Regions from separate parts of the Homo sapiens genome. Here region 1 is linked to region 2. The links are contacts of gene promoters, found by promoter capture Hi-C in human tissues and cell types (Jung and others, 2019). All regions are on one chromosome and are shown on one strand. The core of a region is centred on a gene start or on the middle of the fragment in contact, and the rest is flanking DNA. Distances in the headings are between cores, read along the strand shown.

Evidence for each region. The method cuts DNA at HindIII sites, captures the fragments that hold promoters and counts their contacts. A contact is called where the count stands out against the background at its distance.
Region 1: a contact is called between a fragment that was not itself captured here and the fragment with the promoter of FST in region 2, in 2 of the 25 tissues and cell types used here (H1 embryonic stem cells and pancreas).

What each region holds. Positions count from the first base shown.
Region 1 is chr5:53,798,632-53,804,369 of GRCh38, forward strand. The region is part of intron 1 of LINC02105 (long intergenic non-protein coding RNA 2105); the gene reads right to left. Among named protein-coding and RNA genes, the nearest start is that of LINC02105, 18 kb to the right of the region's middle. RefSeq lists a silencer at 1,074-1,274. The HindIII fragment of the contact is 3,354 bases long and covers 975-4,328 here.
Region 2 is chr5:53,476,011-53,482,407 of GRCh38, forward strand. It overlaps FST (follistatin), which reads left to right and starts at 4,619. Exons shown (of 6, transcript NM_013409.3): 1 at 4,619-4,866. The coding sequence starts at 4,782. RefSeq lists an enhancer at 5,852-5,921. The HindIII fragment of the contact is 11,038 bases long and covers 1-6,397 here.

The DNA of each region.
Region 1 (5,738 bases), core at 1,402-3,901, 320 kb after region 2:
GTGCCAGGCACTGTGCCAAGCAGGATACCAAGGAGATAGGGCATAGTTTCCGTTCCTAGGAATCCACAGTCAGCCTCATGACTTTGGCTGGGGATACTCTTTGTTATGAGACCTACAGCCAACCAGTCTGGGAGTCCAAGACTGTCCAGATGGTTTGGGCTTCTGGTTGCCCACTCAGTATGGCTAGCTTGCCACCAGCAGAGAGACAGAAGTTAGTCTCTTAGCTGTCCTCCTTAGCTGACCAGGGCCCGGAGGGTGCATACATCTTGTTTCAATCCCTGGATCTGTGGTTCTTCTTGTCAGCAGACAAGACCAGCAGTGTCTGCCTTGTTCTACACTATGAGTTTGCTTCAAGCCTCTGCTCTCCAGGAAAGCATTGACAGTATTTCTTAGGAATAATATCTATATAAGAAAGCCCTCAAGGAAGGCAAGAAACAAGCTTGGTAATGGGCTGAAGGGAAGAGGGCAGAGTTCTAGGAGGGAATGAGCAATGCTGTGTATAAAAAAGCACAGTATAAGCAGTGGAACATGCAATAAAAGGCATTGCACCAATTTTCCTTGTAAGGCAATGGTAACATATAAAGAATGAATTCAATCTCAACACCTCAAAACCTATAAGAAGCAAGGTGCAGACACCATGACCCCTTATTTAGTAGACATTTTGGGGTTCTGTGGGTATATTAGATTAAGCAGACACGGAAGAATTTTGTTATTGTCACTATGGTTAAAAGTAATTTGAGGTGTCCATTCCAAGATGGCTGAATAGGAACAGCTCTGGTCTGCAGCTCCCAGCATGATTGATGCAGAAGATGGGTGATTTCTGCATTTCCAACTGAAGTACCTGGTTCATCTCATTGAGACTGGTTGTAAAGCGGATACAGCCCACGGAGGGCAAGCTGAAGCAGGGCGGGGCGTCACTTTACCCTGGAAGCACAAGGGGTCATGGGGTTTCCCTTTCCTAGCCAAGGGAAGCTGTGACAGACAGCACCTAGAAAAACGGGACACTCCTGCTCAAATACTGCGCTTTTCCAACGTTCTTAGCAAACAGCACACCAGGAGATTATATCCCCCGCATGGCTTGGCAGGTCCCACGCCCATGAAGCCTTGTTCACTGCTAGCTCAGCAGTGAGATCAACCTGCAAGGCAGCGGCCCAGCAGGGGGAGGGGCGTCTGCCATTGCTGAGGCTTGAGTAGGTAAACAAAGTGGCCTGGAAGCTCGAACTGGGCGGAGCCAACCACAGCACCACAAGGCTTGCTGCCTCTATAGACTCCACCTCTGGGGGCAGGGCATAGTTGAACAAAAGGCAGCAGAAACTTCTGCAGACTTAAATGTCCCTGTTTGACAGCTCTGAAGAGAGCAGTGGTTCTCCCAGCACCGTGTTGGAGCTCTGAGAACAGACAGACTGTCTCCTCAACTGGGTCCCTGACTCCCGTGTAGCCTAAGTGGGAGACACCTCCCAGTAGGGGCAAACTGACACATCATACAGCCGGGTGCCCCTCTGAGACAAAGCTTCCAGAGGAAGGATCAGGCAGCAACATTTGCTGTTCTGCAGCCTCTGCTGGTGATACCCAGGCAAACAGGGTCTGGAGGGCACCTCCAGCAAACTCCAACAGAACTGCAGCTGAGGGACCTGACTGTTAGAAGGAAAACTAACAAACATAAAGGAATAGCAACAACATCAACAAAAACGACATCCACACCAAAACCCCATCTGTAGGTCACCATCATCAAAGACCAAAGGTAGATTAAACCACAAAGATGGGGAGAAACCACAGCAGAAAAGCTGAAAATCCTAAAAACCAGAGTGCCTCTTTTCCTCCAAAGGATAGCAGCTCCTTGCCAGCAATGGAACAACCCTGGATGGAGAAAACTTTCATGAGTTGACAGAAGTAGGCTTCAGAAGGTCAGTAATAACAAACTTCTCTGAGCTAAAAGAGGATGTTCGAACCCGTCGCAAGGAAGCTAAAAACCTTGAAAAAAGATTAGATGAATGGCTAACTAGAACGAACAGTGTAGGGAAGACCTTAAATGACCGGATGGAGCTGAAAACCATGGCACGAGAACTACATGACACATGCATAAGCTTCAATAGCTGATTCAATCAAGGGGAAGAAAGGGTATCAGTGACTGAAGATCAAATTAATGAAATAAAGTGAGAAGTTTAGAAAAAAAGAGTAAAAATAAATAAAGCCTCCAAGAAATATGGGACTATGTGAAAAGACCAAATCTATGTTTGATTGGTGTATCTGAAAGTGACAGGGAGAATGGAACCAAGTTGGAAAACACTCTGCAGGATATTATCCAGGAGAACTTCCCCAACCTAGCAAGGCAGGTCAACATTCAAATTCAACAAATACAGAGAACACCACTAAGATACTTCAGAAGAGCAACTCCACGACACATAATTGTCATATTCACCAAGGTTGAAATGAAGGAAAAAATGTTAAGGGCAGCCAAAGAGAAAGGTTTCGTTACCCACAAAGGGAAGCCCATCAGACTAACAGTGGGTCTCTCGGCAGAAGCTCTACAAGCCCGAAAAGAGTGGAGGCCAATATTCAACATTCTTAAAGAAAAGAATTTTCAACCCAGAATTTCATATCCAGCCAAACTAAGCTTCATAAGTGAAGGAGAAATAAAATCCTTTACAGACAAGCAAATGCTGAGAGATTTTGTCACTACCAGGCCTGCCTTACAAAAGCTCCCAAAGGAAGCACTAAACATGGAAAGGAACAACTGGTACCAGCCACTGCAAAAACATACCAAATTGTAAAGACCATTGAGGCTAGGAAGAAACTGCATAAAGTAATGGGCAAAATAACCAGCTAACATCATAATGGCAGGATCAAATTCACACATAACAATATTAACCTTAAATGTAAATGGGCTAAATGCCCCAATTAAAAGACACAGATGGGCAAATTGGATAGAGTCAAGTCCTATCAGTGTGCTGTATTCAGGAAACCCATCTCACGTGCAGAGACACACATAGGCTCAAAATAAAGGGATGGAGGAAGATCTACCAAGCAAATGGAAAGCAAAAAAAAAGGAGGGGTTGCAATCCTAGTCTCTGATAAAACAAACTTTAAACCAACAAAGATCAAAAGACACAAAGAAGGCCATTACATAATGGTAAAGGGATCAATTCAACGAGAAGAGCTAACTATCCTAAATATATATGCACCCAATACAGGAGCACCCAGATTCATAAAGCAAGTCCTTAGAGCCGGAGACTTTAACACCCCACTGTCAATATTAGACAGATCAATGAGACAGAAGGTTAACAAGGATATCCAGGACTTGAACTAAGCTCCGCACCAAGCAGACCTAATAGTCATCTACAGAACTCTCCACCCCAAATCAACAGAATATCCATTCTTCTCAGCATCACATCACACTTATTCCAAAATTGACCACGTAGTTGAAGTAAAGCACTCCTCAGCAAATGTAAAAGAACAGAAACCACCACAAACTGTCTCTCAGATCACAGTACAATCAAATTAGAACTCAGGATTAAGAAACTCACTCAAAACCAAACAACTACGTGGAAACTGAACAACCTGCTCCTGAATGACTACTGGGTACATAACGAAATGAAGGCAGAAATAAAGATGTTCTTTGAAACCAATGAGAAAAAAGACACAACATACCAGAATCTCTCGGACACATTTAAAGCAGTGTGTAGAGGGAAATTTATAGCACTAAATGCCCACAAGAGAAAGCAGGAAAGATCTAAAATCGACACCCTCACATCACAATTAAAAGAACTAGAGAAGCAGAAGCAAACAAATTCAAAAGCTAGCAGAAAGCAAGCAATAACTAAGATCAGAGCAGGACTGAAGGAAATAGAGACACAAAAGCCCTCCAAAAAAATCAATGAATCCAGCAGTTGGTTTTTTGAAGACATCAATAAAAAATTTTTTTTTTGGATTTTAAATTATTATTATTTTTTTATTTTATTATTATTATACTTTAAGTTTTAGGGTACACGTGCACAATGTGCAGGTTAGTTACGTATGTATACCTGTGCCATGCTGCTGTGCTGCACCCATTAACTCATCATTTAGCATTAGGTATATCTCCTAATGCTAGGCCTCCCCGCTCCCCCCACCCCACAACAGACCCCCATCAATAAAATTGATAGACCGCTAGCAAGACTAATAAAGAAAAAAACAGGGAGCCAAGATGGCTGAATAGGAACAGCTCCAGTCTACAGCTCCCAGCATGAGTGACGCAGAAGATGGGTGATTTCTGCATTTCCAACTGAGGTACCAGGTTCTTCTCACTGGGGAGTGCCAGACAGTGGGTGCAGCACACCATGCATGAGCTGAAGCAGGGTGAGGCATCACCTCACCCGGGAAGCATAAGGGGTCAGGGAATTCCCTTTCCTAGTCAAAGAAAGGGGTGACAGATGGCACCTGGAAAATTGGGTCACTCCTACCCTAATACTGCGCTTTTCCGATGGGCTTAACAAACAGCACACCAGGAGATTATATCCCACACCTGGCTCAGAGGGTCCTACGGCCACGGAGCCTCGCTCATTGCTAGCACAGCAGTCTGAGATCAAACTGCAAGGCAGCAGTGAGGCTAGGGGAGGGGCGCCCGCCATTGCCAAGGCTTGAGTAGGTAAACAAAACAGCCAGGAAGCTCGAACTGGGTGGAGCCTGCCACAGCTCAAGGAGGCCTGCCTGCCTCTGTAGGCTCCACCTCTGGGGGCAGGGAACAGACAAACAAAAGGCAGCAGTAACCTCTGCAGACTCAAATGTCCCTGTCTGACAGCTTTGTAGAGAGTAGTGGTTCTCCCAGCACGCAGCTTGAGATCTGAGAATGGGCAGACTGCCTCCTCAAGTGGGTCCCCGACCCCCAAGTAGCCTAACTGGGAGGCATCCCCCAGTAGGGGCGGACTGACACCTCACATGGCTGGGTACTCCTCTGAGACAAAACTTCCACAGAAACGATCAGGCAACAGCATTTGCGGTTCACCAATATCCGCTTTTCTGCAGCCTCCGCTGCTGATACCCAGGCAAACAGGGTCTGGAGTGGACCTCCAGCAAACTCCAACAGACCTGCAGCTGAGGGTCCTGACTGTTAGAAGGAAAACTAACAAACAGAAAGGACATCCACACCAAAAACCCATCTGTACATCACCATCATCAAAGACCAAAGGTAGGTAAAACCACAAAGATGGGGAAAAAACAGAGCAGAAAAACCAGACACTCTAAAAATCAGAGCGCCTCTCCTCCTCCAAAGGAACGCAGCTCCTCACCAGCAATGGAAAAAAGCTGGATGGAGAATGACTTTGACGAGTTGAGAGAAGAAGGCTTCAGAAGATCAAACTACTCCGAGTTAAAGGAGGAAGTTTGAACCAATGGCAAAGAAGTTAAAAACCTTGAAAAAAAATTACACGAATGGATAATTAGAATAATCAATGCAGAGAAGTCCTTAAAGGAACTGATGGAGCTGAAAACCACAGCACGAGAACTACATGACGAATGCACAAGCCTCAGGAGCCAATGCAATCAACTGGAAGAAAGGGTATCAGCGATGGAAGACGAAATGAATGAAATTAAGTGAGAAGAGAAGTTTAGAGAAAAAAGTATAAAAAGAAATGAACAAAGCCTCCAAGAAATATGAGACTAAGTGAAAAGACCAAATCTACGTCTGATTGGTGTACCTGAAAGTGACGGGGAGAATGGAACCAAGTTGGAAAACACTCTGCAGGATATTATCCAAGAGAACT
Region 2 (6,397 bases), core at 3,369-5,868:
TCAAGTAATCCGTTGTTTTCTCAGTTATATATATATATATATATATATATTACATAAAACATATTTTTCTAATGATTTTTTAAAACCTTAATTGACCGGTAGTTTGGATATCTTGGGTAAACATTGCTTCTACGTACTCACATTTCTTAACTTTTTAGTTCTGTAATGATTCAACCAATACAGAACTACTGCCCCCATCCCCCTACTCAAATCCTTATGCTAGCCTATGAAGTTGCATAATGCCAAAGACTATGACACATTAAGTAACTGTTTTGTACCTAGAATAAAATCTGATTTTAAAATCATTTTAGCCTATTTTTCAAATGCTTAACTTTTGTTGTTTAATCAAGATTGATTATTTGCACTTGAAAATGTATTCATTTTGCAAAACACCTAACTTCAAAAAAAGCTTGACATTTAATCTTAAGGCAAAAAAAAAAAAAAAGCTACTCAGTTCATGACTTTCAAATAGTCTCTACATAACCTCACCCCACTCCCTCCATATTCTCTTTTTAGGTACTGAAATTTAACCAGGTCAGTTCTGGTCTCAAATAACAATGTCATATGAGTTTAAATAGCTATCTAGGGAGTTAGATTGAATCATTTGCTAAACTCTAATATTTTAAATTTATAAACTTCAGAAGGAAGACAGCTTTTGAAGCTGACAAAAGACCAATCAGAAAACAGTAGTCTTTTTGTGTGCTGCCCAGAAATTCAGCTACAAAGTGGTCCTATTGTGTTTCTCATAATTTACATTTTTATTTGGCAGAGCAGAAAGGAAAAATAAGAAGTCAAACTTGGAGGCATACAACAAAAATGAAAGGCGACATTTTTATTTTAAAATGTCCCCTTGACATTTAGATATCTACAAACCCAATATTTAACATTTACAGGCGATATAACAGTAAAAGAAATAGCAGCTGTTTTTCTGTGATGTCACTGAACAGGTGTGGTACCATTTCATACCACAGAAATGGGATGGATCTCTTGCTGATGCCCACAGAAAGCCTATAAGGAACCAGTATTGACCTGTGTCTCATTTCCTCAGTTATGATCTGAAAATAACCCTAGATGGCAAGAGTCATGGTGACTGATCTGTGCTGATTTGGAGCAGACATTCTCCCAAACAGATCAATACTATCCAAGGTGCAGCTGAAAAACAGGATGAGCTTGTATCACTAAACAAACACCAAGCTGCTTATTCAAAAGGGCAAAAGCAACACAGCACTTATGTTTTCCACAGTGTGTTTGCCAGTGACCTCAACCCTGACCTGCAGGGTCACCTTCTCTGGGACGAGAAGTAATCCTGTGTTGGGTCACCCTCTGGTACTGAGGGACTCCTATTTGTGGTGCCATTTTTTACAATGAGAGCTACTGTGTCTGCTTTGGCTTAGCCAAGACAATTACATGATGCCAAAACAACTAGTCAAGGCAGTCAATTTAGTCAAATGACTGGTCTGAGCATTTGGCATTACATAGACAAAAAATGAAATAGAAATGAAATTTTTACTTTTACCCAATCATACTGGAATTGTGAGGATACAACTTAAATTAATTTAGAAAGTTTTTGTGACATCAGTTGTTTCTATATACATAAACTAAAATAAGTATCTGGACAAACTAAATAGTTTTGCTCAAACATGGAAAATTTTTTGACTAGCCCCTCCAAATTGCTTCTATTCTAATCTTCATTTAGCTACACAGACCTTCCCCCAAAAAGGTAATCTTTGTGTATACTTGTATGACCCTTTTACATCAACATGTTATATGTACATATAGGAATGAACAAAATTAAAATCTAATAAGAACATACAAGTTATATCACTATTCTCCTTGCTATACGGTTATAAAATATGATGAGATTATGAACTTTAAAACAATCTTCCCAAAGATATTGAGAAAATAAATATGGATTAAAACGTGATTCTATATTTCTCCAGGCAAGATGACTTCATATACAACTAGGCATATAAGTAAAATTTAAATATTTTGTATAGTCCTAGGGTGGAAAGTCTAAGAAAAAGACCCCAGTTTCCAGAGGCTACTGGCCAATTCAGGACCAATAAATATATTTAAACTGGAGACAAATATAAAATCATGTAATTATGTATGATCATTGATAGCATTGCTGTAAGATCCAGTTACTTACCATCTGAGATCTTTTATGCATTTGGAATGTTTATTTTTCAACCTTGGATATACGGTTTGATACCTCTACCTTAAAAAGAAGCTGTGTCTCTTGCTGCCATTAAAAGACAGGGTAGGGGGAAAAGTCAAGTAACAATACTTGTTAGCTTCTCTTTCCTTTAACTTATCCCTGGGCAGGGGTGGGGGAACCTTTAAGCAGAGAAAACAAACTTTCCCTCCAGCACATCATTGTATAAGGACTATACCATTTCTCTGAATAAAGAAGAAATAAATTCAGCTTTGGAACTCTGCCATTGAGTGGCGGCTCCTGCAAAGGGGACAGTTTGCTATTAATTGTTAATGTCGTCTGCCATTAGAGGGCACTAAACAACTCTACATTAATGAGTTGGAGGGAAGAGAGAAAAGGAGACTGGAAAAGAAAGAGAGGGAGAAAAGGGAGGGAGAGTACGGGTAGAGTCTGGGTAGAGGGAGGGAAGGAGAGAAGAGGGGAAGGAGTAGGGGAAAGAGAGCAGAGGGAATGAGTTGGAGGACTGGAGGGAAAGGGAGAAGGGGAGAGAGACAGCGAGACAGAAACAGACAGAATGATTCTGGAAAGATTAAGAAGGATGTGGAGCCCCCACAGCCGTCTGAAGTGAGCAAAATCCAGTCTCCCCCGGGCCGCCCGAGCCCCTCCCCTCCCGTCCTCATGACGGTAATTATAAAGCGAAAAGCGGCGGCGAGGTCACCCGCTTTTACCAGCCTGCTGCACCGAATGCGCGCGGTGCAGGTGCGGCGGCCGCGGGGCTTTGTGATTCATGCCCACTTTCAAAGGGGGGCTTGGGCCCGTCTGAGAGGCACCCAAACAACTGTCTTCTAATATTAGCACGGCTGTATTTCGGGATCTATTATAGTCTGTCCAGACAGATCCCATTGTAATGGGATCTTTTATTAAAAGATTAGCACTATCTCCTGCAGTTGGTGGAAAAAAATCTGTTATCACTGAGTTATTTGCAGTTGTGGAGGGGGGAAGGTTGACGGAAGATGGGGGGTGGGAGGGCTAGAGGAGGACTGGGGGAGGGTCTGGCGGGGGGAGGGCAGTTGCAGGGGGGGAAGAAGGGCAGATTTGAAATTCGTAGAACAAATCCCAGTGACCTGCGAATGTCCAAGAATTTTGTCTGCATACTTCGCTATCTGTTGTCCTTCGGGCTTCAGATGCGAAAAGAACAAATTTAAAAGGCAGCTTTGGAATAAACAATATAGCATTTTCCGTGAAGTAATCGTTTTATATAAAAGGAAATATCGCCTCCTCAGTTTCATTCAGCGGTGCCAAAAATGTTATAAATGAGAGACCCGCCAACTTTCAGCGAAGAATGCCAGGCACTGTACTTAATAAACTGAGGCTACAGAAGTTCATTATGGATGTTGCAATCTTTTTTATTCCGCGAAAAGAGAGAAGACGAGACAGAAAGAGAGAGAGATTGGAGCCGAGGAGACTGAGAGACAGACAGAGGCACACAGGACAGAAACTGGGGAGTCTCCAGGCGGGAGAGGAAGGGGGGGCCAGACCGCCTACGTCGGCGCCCCCGCTCCGGGCTCCGACTCCAGACGCCGCGAAGTGAAAGGGGAGAAAAGAAAGGGAGAGGGCGAGGCTGTGCCGCGGGGAGACCGGGCCTGAGGTGTTAAACATTTTTGTTTGCTTCCGACTAGTCCAGACGAAGGGCCGCGTCTCGGTAGCGCTCTGCCAGGGTGGAAGGTGCCGGGGCCGGGGTTCCTAGCAACACCTCTGGGCTGGGGGTGGCTGCAAAGTCAGGCACTCACAGACCCAGACACAAAACCTCGCGGGTCCCGCGCCCAGGCTGCGGGTGCCCGGAACCGCCGCGAGGCCGGCGCGCTCCGACCCGACCCGGGGCGGGATATTTGGGCAGCCCGGGGCTCTTCGGCCGTTTGCAAAAGTCTCTTTGGAGCGGAGGAGAGGCAGCACGGAGACAAACTCCCGGGTTCCCCCCGCCACCGCCTCCAGCGCCCCCACCGCGCCCTCCCTCTCACACTCGCGCGCGCGCGCACACACACTCACACACACACTCACACACACACCCGCCACCCCGGGCGCGCCGGCGCTGCCGGCGAGCGGCGGCGAGCAGGACTTGAAGTGGGTGTTCTTCCCCACTCCCCACCCCCGACGCGTAGCCCCCAACCCCCGCCCCGGTCGCCTTCCCCCTCCCTCTCGCTCCTACGCAAATAAGAACTCGACGATTCCCTTCCAGCCGTTTTGATTTCGGGCACCTCCGAAAGATAATTGGGAAGGGTTTCCAGAAGGTGGGAAATGTCACCTGATTCACACTGAACTTTTGAAAGCTCCCCACCCCCAAGGAGCCGCGCACACCCTCGCTCGCGGCCGCCCTCCCACAGCCCCACACACTGGGAGACCGCCCACCGCAAACCGCGGAGACCCCCGTCTAGATTTAAAGCGCGGCTGCGCCCGGCTTCTGACGTCCATTGAATCGCGCGGGCGGCCGGCGGCGAGCGCGGGGCTGCGCCGGGATCGCTGCGCCCTCCGCCGCTGGCCTCTGCGACGCGCGCCGCTCGCCCGAGCCACCCGCCGCCGCGCCGGCTCCCCGCGCCGCTGCGCTCCTCGCCCCGCGCCTGCCCCCAGGATGGTCCGCGCGAGGCACCAGCCGGGTGGGCTTTGCCTCCTGCTGCTGCTGCTCTGCCAGTTCATGGAGGACCGCAGTGCCCAGGGTAAGCGAGTGGGGATGCGCTGGGGAGGCTTGGCTGAGGACAGGGGGGTCGACTTTTCTGTGGTCTCCACTTGGTCTGTTCTGAGCAACGCTGCTCTCGGAAGATGTTGAACCAACTTGGGGACTCCGGGATGGAGAGGAGTGGGAAAATTGTAGGCAATGACACTTTAGGACTGGGAACTGAGTTTGGAGCTCGGTTATCTTGAAAAAGGAAAGGGAGCGAGCTGGGGTCTTAGTAGTTAGGGTTAAATGCTCCAAGTTCTGGCCATGATAACTTTAGATGTGATCTCCTCTGTTTGGCTCTGAAGAAGGGAACAAGTATCAGTAGTAGCCTGGAGATTTCAGTCGACCCATTTGCAGTCTCATCTCTCTCCCTCCCACATCTTTTGGATACTTAAAAAAAAAAAAGGAAAGAAAGAAAAGAAAACCTGGGGGTTTGGGGGAGAGATACTGAATTTTATTTGGTGGCTGGGGGACGTGGTTTCAGAAACTTTGCCCAAACTTGGAAATGTGGGTGCTGAAGATTTTCAAGGGAAGTAGCTTTCTGCCTAGTGGATGCTTCTTCCAACCCCATCCCCCATTCTCGCAAAAAAAAAAAAAAAAAAAAAAAAGCCAAATTATTACCCCAAAGTGCTTTGAGCACTTTACAGTTTTTTTCCCCTCTGCCTCATTCTTCTTTCTGACCCTTAGCTTTCTGTAAAACAGTGAGCAGCCCATAACTGACTTAAATTCTGAAATGGGTTAAGAGCAAATTTCTGAAGCTTGCCTTTTAAAAATAGATTTGTTTATTTCAATTAGTCTTTGGGCAGAATGTTTAAAATAATAATAGCAGCTTGCGATCCAATGATTGTTAAAGTCATATTGGTGATTCATGAGAAGTCTTCTCGACCCAAATCCGAACATTAAAAAGGGGGAAGAGGGAGAAATCACTTGCAAATATTTCTTGCTAGGTATGAGATAGGTACTTATAACCGTGAAATGGTAGGAAGACTCCCCCCTCCCCCCACCTTAAGGCATTACTTTCCCTGCTTCAGCGTTAACATTTTAAGTATGTTGTAAACTGCCCTCCTGGGCACTGCCCCTCGCCGTCTGCATGGCACTGCGCTGGGTTGCCCGCCTTTAGAGGAGAGGCTCTGCCTGGTGCCCGGACGTGGGCGCGGAGGAAAGCAGCCCTCGGAGATTTCGAAAGATCGCGGTGGCCGCGGGCGTGCTCCGGTCTGGCGGATTGCAAAACGGGCCCGTCGGGCTGGCTGCGCCTGGAGGCCGCGCGGGGTAGCTCCGGGCTGGGCCGGGTTGCTTTTTTGCTTTCATTTTTCAGAAGTGCCTTTTGCTTGATCTGTTTCTCTCTCTCTCTCTTTCTTTTCTTTCTTCCTCTCTCTCTTTCTTTCTTCCTTTTTTTCTTTCTTTCTCTTTCTTTTCTTTCTTTCTCTTCTTTCTTTTCTTTCTTTCTTTCTCTTTCCTTCTCCCTCTCTCTCCCCTCCATCTCTCCTCTCTCCTCTCTCTCGTTCTCTTACTTTCTTAACCCCTGTCAC